2 separate regions of the Homo sapiens genome follow, and region 2 is linked to region 1. Evidence: promoter capture Hi-C in human tissues and cell types (Jung and others, 2019). All regions are on one chromosome and are shown on one strand. Each heading gives the region's core, a stretch centred on a gene start or on the middle of the fragment in contact. The rest is flanking DNA. Distances are from core to core; before and after follow the strand shown. Region 1 holds the start of CIDEA (cell death inducing DFFA like effector a). Region 2 has its middle 6.9 kb from the start of MIR7153.

Region 1 (4,150 bases), core at 131-2,630:
GTACCCTCAGCCCTGTTCTTTCTATGTATCTCTATATTTGAACTTTTTCACAATAAAAAGGTTAGAGGTAAGTTGACCTGAATTGATTGGACCCATTTTCTCATCCATCACATTGGGGCTGTGAGTGGGAGGGGCAGTGAATGACCTCCTAAAGCTGTGTCCGCTCAGTGCCTCTGGGGGAAGCTGCCCCCTGTGAGCCTGGAGCTGGGTGTTCCCAGCAGGCGGAGTCCTTGACTCTGGAAGGCAATTGCCTTTGGCTTCAACAGTCCTGCAAGTCACAAGGCTTGTTGACCACGGTGACCCTTTCTGAGAGCCAGCGGAGGAAGAGGGCGGGCATAGGGTCAGGTCTTAAGAGATCAGGTCAGTCTGCTCAAACCAGGTGGGCTCAGGAGGAGCCGGCGAGGGTCCCGCTGCAGCTCCCGAAACGCTGTTTCCAGGCGGCAGTCAGCAGTTGGGCACGAGAGGATATCCTAGCAAGCCTCCATCCCAGAAAGTTACACCTCTTACTGCCCGAGTCCCACCCCTCAACACTGAGCCCACCTCTTCAGTCCTGTAGTGAGGGGTTCTGGGAACCCCTTGTAACTGCCCGCCTTCCTCGGAGGTCTCAGAGGCCCTAATTGCGTCTTCCGATGGGAACAACCATGAGAGCAGGGTGTGGACGGAAGTCCCCCAGCCCCAGCGGGGTTCACTCTTTGCCTCCTCACTCTGCGAGGGTCCCTTACTACAGCTAAAAGGCAATTCATGCAGTCCAAAGGCTCCTTTCCCCTCCCGTTCTGCATGCCCTTCTCACTGTCCCCAAATGCTCATGACATGGCCTTGAGAGCAGCGCAGCGGGCAGGAAGCCCAGGCGCCTCGGAGAACCTGAAGGGCTGCAGGTCCCGGTGTCTGCGGCAGCTTCCGCATCCCTGCAGGGAACCAGCGGCTCGCTGAGCCTGGGGCTGGGCTCTGGGGGACTCCAGAGCTGGAGGCAAGTGGCGCTCACATCCGTCTCCTCACCTGCCCCACCCGTGGCCTGGGTTTAAAATCCACATACCCGTCTTTCCGCGGCCAAAGTGATGCTGCCAGGATTGGTTATGACCCCAACTGCCCCGACCCCCAGAAGTGCAAAACGAACAGGCTGGCAAGTGACCAAAAGAGACCCGGGGAGCATCTGGGCTTCCAAGGTCCTCGGTACGGCCCAAGGCAGCGAAGGACGCGCGGCTCCAGGCTGCGGGAGCCAGGACGACCGGGGGCTCCCAGAGCGCGAAGTCGCGATCCTCGGCGGTGGAGAGCTCGTGCCAAAACGTCCTCCCCTGCGCCAGTCAGGCCTTCGCGGGGCTGGCAGGCGGGCGGGGGCGGGGCCGCCGCACTTTAAGAGGCTGTGCAGGCAGACAGACCTCCAGGCCCGCTAGGGGATCCGCGCCATGGAGGCCGCCCGGGACTATGCAGGAGCCCTCATCAGGCGAGTGCCCCGCGTCCCCCTGATTGCCGTGCGCTTCCAATCGCCTTGCGTTCGGTGGCCTCATATTCCCCTGTGCGCCTCTAGTACCGTACCCCGCTCCCTTCAGCCCCCTGCTCCCCGCATTCTCTTGCGCTCCGCGACCCCGCGCACACACCCATCCGCCCCACTGGTGCCCAAGCCGTCCAGCCGCGCCCGCGGGCAGAGCCCAATCCCGTCCCGCGCCTCCTCACCCTCTTGCAGCTGGGCACAGGTACCAGGTGTGGCTCTTGCGAGGTGCGCGGGCGTCTGCAAACCAGGTGACAGCTGGCGAGTGGCTGCATGCATCTCTGGCCGCTGCTGCAGTCGCGGGCGCAGAAGAGGGTCCGGTCCCAGGAACCCCGAGCAAAGCTTCCGCGATGCGAGGGGACCGGGCTTCTGGGGGTCCTGGAAATCACAACGGGAGCTGGGCGCGGGAGGGGCCCAGGCTTGGCCCCTCCTGGAAGCGCGGGCTCTGGTCTCCGAGGGGAGGCCCCAACCGTCCGGCGGAGCCCTCCAGGTTGGTGGTGCTGGGAGAAGCGCTCCTCCTTGCCTCCGGGTCCAAGGGCGGAGACGCTGCCTGGGGAGCAGGGGGGACAAGGGGCGGGTGGACCCTGAGGAGTCTTCCCTGCGCTTCGCACCCGCTCGTGGTCGAACAGGCAGCATTGGCTATTTTCCTGCTTGGGTTAATATTCATATCCCAACAGACCCAAGCCAATTCTTGGTAAAATCCTAAGTCATTGCGTGGCAGCAACTGTAAAGTAAGGTCTAAGAGGGAGATCGTGTTTCTCTGAAGATCAAGTACCTGGAAAAGGATAGAGAACCATTTGCGGGCTTGAAGGTGCAGGCGTTCAGCGGCGCCGGGTCCCACTGTGTGTGCTACGTGTGGCGGGCAGAGAGACTACATGTGTGAAAGGGAGCGGTCCGGCTACGAAACGCAATCTATGAGCTTCCAATCCCGGGTTCTTAAATGGGAGCTGTTGTAGACACTGCAGGTTAGAAGCATCTTTCTCTTTAAAAATAAGCCCACAGTACAAGTCGGGGCGGTGGCAGGGGGACGCTGAGAAACACCTGCTTCGTGTATGGTCATTAACACGCTTAGGCCTAAAGGTCAGGGCCCTGTATCTTTTGCGTTCTTCCAGAACCATCCACACCACAGTCCCACTTCCAGGAGGGGAGGTCTTAGCAGTTTGGAATGCGTCCTTCCAACCACTTTTCCAGTGAATTCACAACACACCCACTGTTCCTCCGGAGCATGGGGGAAGGAGGTGTGGGCTGACTCGCACTAACCAATCCTGGTTGGCCTCTGAGCAGGATTCAGGCTGAGCCTGTCCCTGCCTCTGACTATTATAACAGCTCACCAAAATCCAAAATGCATCTGTGTGGGGTCTCTGTGAGGTCGTGTGAAGTGGAAGTGACTTGCTTATGAGCTGTTGACAAATGAAACATTGGGAAACCTTGAGTCTCCTAGGACACATTCCTTCCAGCTTGGCTCATCCCAGGAGTGAATGACTCTACCTGTTATGGACAAGCTGTTGCTGCAGTTCTTTGAAATCTACCTGCTTCCAGGCTGAACTACTGTCATTCTGTGAAATCTACCTGCTCCCAGGCTGAACTACTGTCATTCTGTGAAATCTACCTGCTCCCAGGCTGGACTACTGTCATTCTGTGAAATCTACCTGTTACCAAACTAAACTGGAAGAAAACAATCTGTAATTCTTGTTGAAGGGAAAACACCTTTTCTTCCCTGCCCCTCTCTAAAACCCTGTCCGGGCAAAAGAGCCAGAGGCCAGGTCCTAACATATTTGCTAATTGTGCTCTTGCTGGACTTCGGCTTCCTCTCAGGGTTCCTTAATTTAAACCAGGTCCAGGATGTCATAATTCTGTCTTTATTAGTAACTACATTTTACCAAGGAAAGAACCGAATCAATGTGCACAAAAATTTTTAAAAATCAGGTACTTGTAGTCAGTGGTGAAACCTTAACCCAGGCATTTGTTAGTCAGCTAGAATCGTTAGGGGCCTTGGTCCTGAGGAAAGCAGCCTGAGGTCTCACAACAAAGCTCCAGACATCAAGGAGGTCCACATGCAGGTTGACTATCACAGACAAAGTCTGCTCTGTTCCTGTGTTCTGCCAGTGATAACATTCCTGCCAAACGCTGAAGTTGTTATGAAGCTGGTACATGTTATAAGCTTCGTGTGAAATGGCTGCTTTCATAGCTATCTAGCACATTTTTCCTTTCCTTGAACAAGGAACTCTAGGTTTTGTGCTGCTATTTCAGTACAAATTTCACCAGTCTTCTTAGTGACATTAGTAAGGAATTAAGTATGCTACAAGTCAATCTCTCAGCTTTCTGCTTCTTGAATTTAAATTCTTATTTTAACGAAACTGCAAAGTGTTCAAAGACTTCATGGTCATGTATTGAACACTTGATAATGTCAAGCCTTTAGGTAGCTTGCGAAGAACTGAGCCATGAACCAGGCAGTCCTTGTCGGGGCGAGTTTATCTGGGGGGTAGGTGTGCTCCCACCTGCATATGTCACGTCCAAGAGCCCTAGGGGAGCCGGGCAGCAGGAAGTCTCGTCAAGGCAGCACTTGCTTCCCTGCTTCCTGCCACTGACCCCACCATCCTCTGACACTGTCTCTACAGCTCAGGGACTCTTCTCCAGGCCTGTGGAGCACTTTCCCAGCCCTCC
Region 2 (4,286 bases), core at 557-3,056, 590 kb before region 1:
AGAATTAGAACTGAAGAGTAGGAGAGCAGGAACACGAGAAGATACATTTTGGTTCAATATGCAGCCAACCTGACAGAAGCACACATATGGAATTATCTTCCTGGGGGAAGAGTTCTCTGTCATTCATAGGTGTTCAGACAGAAGCTAGACAGTCACAGACAGGACTATTGCAAGGAAGAGCTCAGTATCCGATGGGGCTGGGTTAGCTTTTCATTGCCTTCCTATTGAGGATTCCAAGATGCAATATTTAATGAAAAGTTATTTCATATGTCTACCTTGCTTAGAGAAAGTAATTGAAATGTGGAGAGAGATTTAATTGGCAAACCTTATCCAAAGTATTGTTTCCCATGAATAGTCTGGCTCACCATGTGCTCAGAGAAGGGCAAAATGGCCAGAAGATCCTGACTTAACATTGAAAAAAGGTACAATTATCCCCAAACATTTCCAGCTGACATAAATATGCACACCCCATCTAAAAAGTACAGCAAACCTGAAAGCCCCATTGGCTGATACTAGTAACCCATTTCTCTGGAATCAGATGATTTATTTTCCTTTGAATGTATCATTTCTGAAGTAATAGGTTAATATTATTTTTAAGTTAATTTTTTTAAAGGTCTGTCTGAATGTTCAAAGATAAAGTTCGCATCACCCTCCCATACTGGCAAGATAGAGTTTGGTATTGTTTTCAAATACGAAGTCACTTTCCTTCTCAAGGAACTGGCCTGGGAGTGTCTCGGAGAAGTTAAATGCAGTGTGGGCTCAGCCACAAAACCGAATAATGCCACTGCAACAACTTGATTCTCAGGAGGGAAAGAAGACTGGCTCGGAGTACATCGGTGGCTACGGAAACCAGCCCTGTGGACACTGGAGAGAAGATGTTTCCATCTAAGTCTATTAAAAAAACCCCAAGACTCCAGCAAATTCAGGCCTGTAAATGTTAGAAGCGGTTTGGTACGGTGATTAGGTTAAGGCATCAAGGACACAGCTCCAGGACACTGTGTGGGTGGCGGCGCCACGGGTCCAGAAACCAGGAGGGAGGGAAGGGGGGTGTATTCCTCCTGCCCAGCAGGCAAAGCAGTCCACCAGGTGGGTAGTGTCTCCAGCACACAAGCTGGGTTTTCAGGGCAGTGTTCCAGCACCAGCAAGGGTCTGGGGTGCTAGACAGGGAAACTGAGGCAGAGACCCACCCACACAAACTGGAACAACTTGGCAGAGGAAAAGAAGACACAGGCAGATGCACACCTCAGTGCCTTCAGCGGGCACACAGGCACTCCAGCGCACCGGGGAGAATGATGACAAGAACCAGGTCAGACCTCACCAGATAAGATTAGCCCAAGAACGAAGGGAAGAAAAATACCCAGGCGGGAACCCACAGAAATGTCAATGGAAGCAGCTAAGCAGGACACCCCTTGACACTTCTTGAGGCATGACTGGCATGTGCCTGGACCTTGTTTTTATTCGAGTGCCCATTTGCCATTCCCAGGGCCTATGTCCTAAGTCCACCTAGAAGCCCCGGCTCCCAAGCCTCTCTGAAGTGCATCATTTTTCCCACTGCATGCACTTTTTGGCATCTGCTGGAGCTCATGAAAGCATCCCTGTAAACTTTACAAAATTAATCAAGGAATAAAGGAAGGCGAGAAATGAAAATAAACCCAGCTGGCGGCACACTCAGCATTCATCATTAGGTCAGCAGCTCTCTGATCCACTTTCTCATAGCTGTTTGGTGCCAGTTGCCTCAGAATCCCGTGGACCCTGTTACAAGATTATAGTTCCCCTTGACTGCCCTATCGATAACAACTTCAACATTACAAAACGTCAAATTTCCCTTTGAGATATTCTTTCAGGTCCTGCATATCAGTGAAACTGCTGACTCAGCTGGTCTGAAGGAACCTAGGAGAAGCTGACTCACCAAGGATGGCAGTTTCCACATCCTAATGAGTTCCTCCCCTTTTCCCCAACCAATCAATGACTCTAATTTTCCAGTCCCTCATCTTCCACGATCCCCTTAAGGGTCCCAGCCCAGAACTTCTCTGGGAGATGGATTTGAGGGTCTCCTCCCATCTCTTTGCTCAACACCCTGTGATCACGAAACTCCCATCTCTGCTGCAAACCCTGCTGTCTCCATGTCATTGATCTGTGACTGCACAGCAAGCATGTGAACCTGTTGGTCCTGTAACACTCTCATTGGAACCATTTCATGGAACTACTTTTCCTTCAGGTTGAGCTTGTAACAGGGACCAGAGTCACTGCAGAATTCAACAGTTGTCCTCCTCATTGCCCTCTTCTCTTCGATCAACCAGGTTTCATTTTCAGCCCAGTTCTCCAAAATGAGTAATGTGCCGCATTTTGAGCATTCATGTGAGAACAAGCAGTGAACGAGAATTCTGTGAACATCGGTTCTCCAGCTCCAGAGCCCTCGGGTCTCTCCTACATCCATCTCTTAAGTTCTCACTGAAGGCACTACTTCCCTCACCTTTATACCTTTCCTCCCTCGTGGAAACAATGATGCTTCTTATAGCATCATACTGGGATTACGCTACCAGTATCCACGTACATCTATTCAAAAAACCAGATGGAAGCAGCCTGATAACGGTGATGGTCTGGCCTAAAATGATCTAGGTCTAGAATTTATAAGTGGAAGAGAGCCCTGAAAGTCCTTAGTTTAATTCCTGTATTCATAAATGTGAGGATTAAGAATTAAAGGGACTAAGTGACTTGCTCCTTTGGATTTGCCCAAGGACCCACAGCTAGCTGCCAGCTAGTGGCAGCAATGGAACTAGAATCCAAATGAAAGTTTTCCCCATCTCACATACTCCCAATTTTTACAGAACAGATAAGGGAAAACTCATGGCACCACTTGGAAACTGGTTACTCCAGATATCTTCCTCTCCAGCTCATGTCCACCAAATGACAGCCAATCACATTTGACAATGTAAAAATCAATGTTCACCCAGCACTTTCTATGCACTTTTCCCCAAAGTCCCTACTTTGGGGAAAACAGGAGAGTAAGATGAAGCCATTCCATTCCATGGCTCAAGAGCTCATGATCTAGTTGGAGAAGTGAGACATTCATCCAATAGTTCTGGCAAGTGACCACACGCCAGGCACTGCTGGAGATACTGACAAGGCATGAGCTAAGCAGACTTGGTGCGGGACACGGACAACGTGAAAGCGAGGCAAATAAACAGACAAGAAGAGTTCAGATGGAGCCCATCAGGGGCAGTGTGAGGGAGAATGTCTGACCACTTACAAAGATGGGGAGGCTGGAGGCCAGCTCTTCTCAGAGGTGTGATATTTGAGCCGGTATGCTTGGAGAAGAAATAGACAGTCTGCAAAAACCTGGGAGAAGAGATTTCCTGGGACAAGGGACAAGGAGGCACAGGCCAGAGGAGCAGGTAACCAAGGAGGAGGAGGGTGCGAGTTGACCCTCAGAGAGTCAGGCACAAAACCAGGACAGGCAGGGTTCATTTAGCCCAGGTGAGGAGTTTGGATTTTTTTCTAAGGGGCCAGAGGGCTTTATGCACAGGACAGACATCATCTGACCATCATCCCAAAGCTAAAACAGAAGTCCACATGTAGACTGTGACAAATGAGTGTGCTGCCACCACAGAGGGACAGCTGAGAGGTAGCTGGGAGGCTGGCTGAGGGTGGCAGACATGAGAAGGGGGACAAGGTCACCACAGAAGCATCACAAGGAAGGCATCTGTTTGGCTGTTTCGGTGTCTGAGCACACATTTGCTTATTTCCGGTCTTGGAGGGAATGGCAGCTTTTTTGTGATCCCAGTTACCTCTGTGTTTCCCTCTCCAGTGCTGAAATATACAGGCCGAATAATTTCCTTAACATTCCTGTTGGTTGTGGGAGCATATGGAAGATGTTACTAATTTGGGAAGAAGAGGAAAAGCTTTCCAAGAAGGAGGAAAACCTTTCCAAGAAGTAGGAAAAGCATGCAGAGACACCTGGACAAGAGGCTTCATGCAAAGCTGGGGGGATGAACCCCAAGAGGCAAAATGCATGACCTGAAGTTTCCCACCAGGCACAGAGCAGAGTGGGTGGCTGGGGAGGCCACCAGGGGTGGACTCCTGGCCCTCAGCAGTCCAGCTCAGGGTGCCGCTTTATCCTGAGAGTATAGTGGGTTTCCACAGAAATCAATGCCTAAGAGTGAGGGACCGGGTGTGCCTGTTAAGTGTCATTCAGGCTGTGGTATGGGGACGAGGCTGAATATGAGACAGAATGGAATGGGTGAGGCTGTCTGGGGGATGGAACAGTGATTCAGGTGAGAATCAAG

The links. Contacts are between HindIII fragments. The study calls those that stand out against the background at their distance.
Region 2: a fragment that was not itself captured here is called in contact with the fragment with the promoter of CIDEA in region 1 in 3 of the 25 tissues and cell types used here (H1 embryonic stem cells, lymphoblastoid cells and spleen).

Annotation. Positions count from the first base shown.
Region 1 is chr18:12,252,981-12,257,130 of GRCh38, forward strand. CIDEA (cell death inducing DFFA like effector a) reads left to right here and starts at 1,381. Exons shown (of 5, transcript NM_001279.4): 1 at 1,381-1,441. The coding sequence starts at 1,404. LOC105371996 (a long non-coding RNA gene) reads left to right here and starts at 2,033. Exons shown (of 2, transcript XR_935158.3): 1 at 2,033-2,451; 2 at 2,599-4,150. RefSeq lists an enhancer at 517-1,123. The HindIII fragment of the contact is 10,266 bases long and covers 1-2,737 here.
Region 2 is chr18:11,659,735-11,664,020 of GRCh38, forward strand. No RefSeq gene overlaps it. Among named protein-coding and RNA genes, the nearest start is that of MIR7153, 6.9 kb to the left of the region's middle. The HindIII fragment of the contact is 6,531 bases long and covers 1-4,286 here.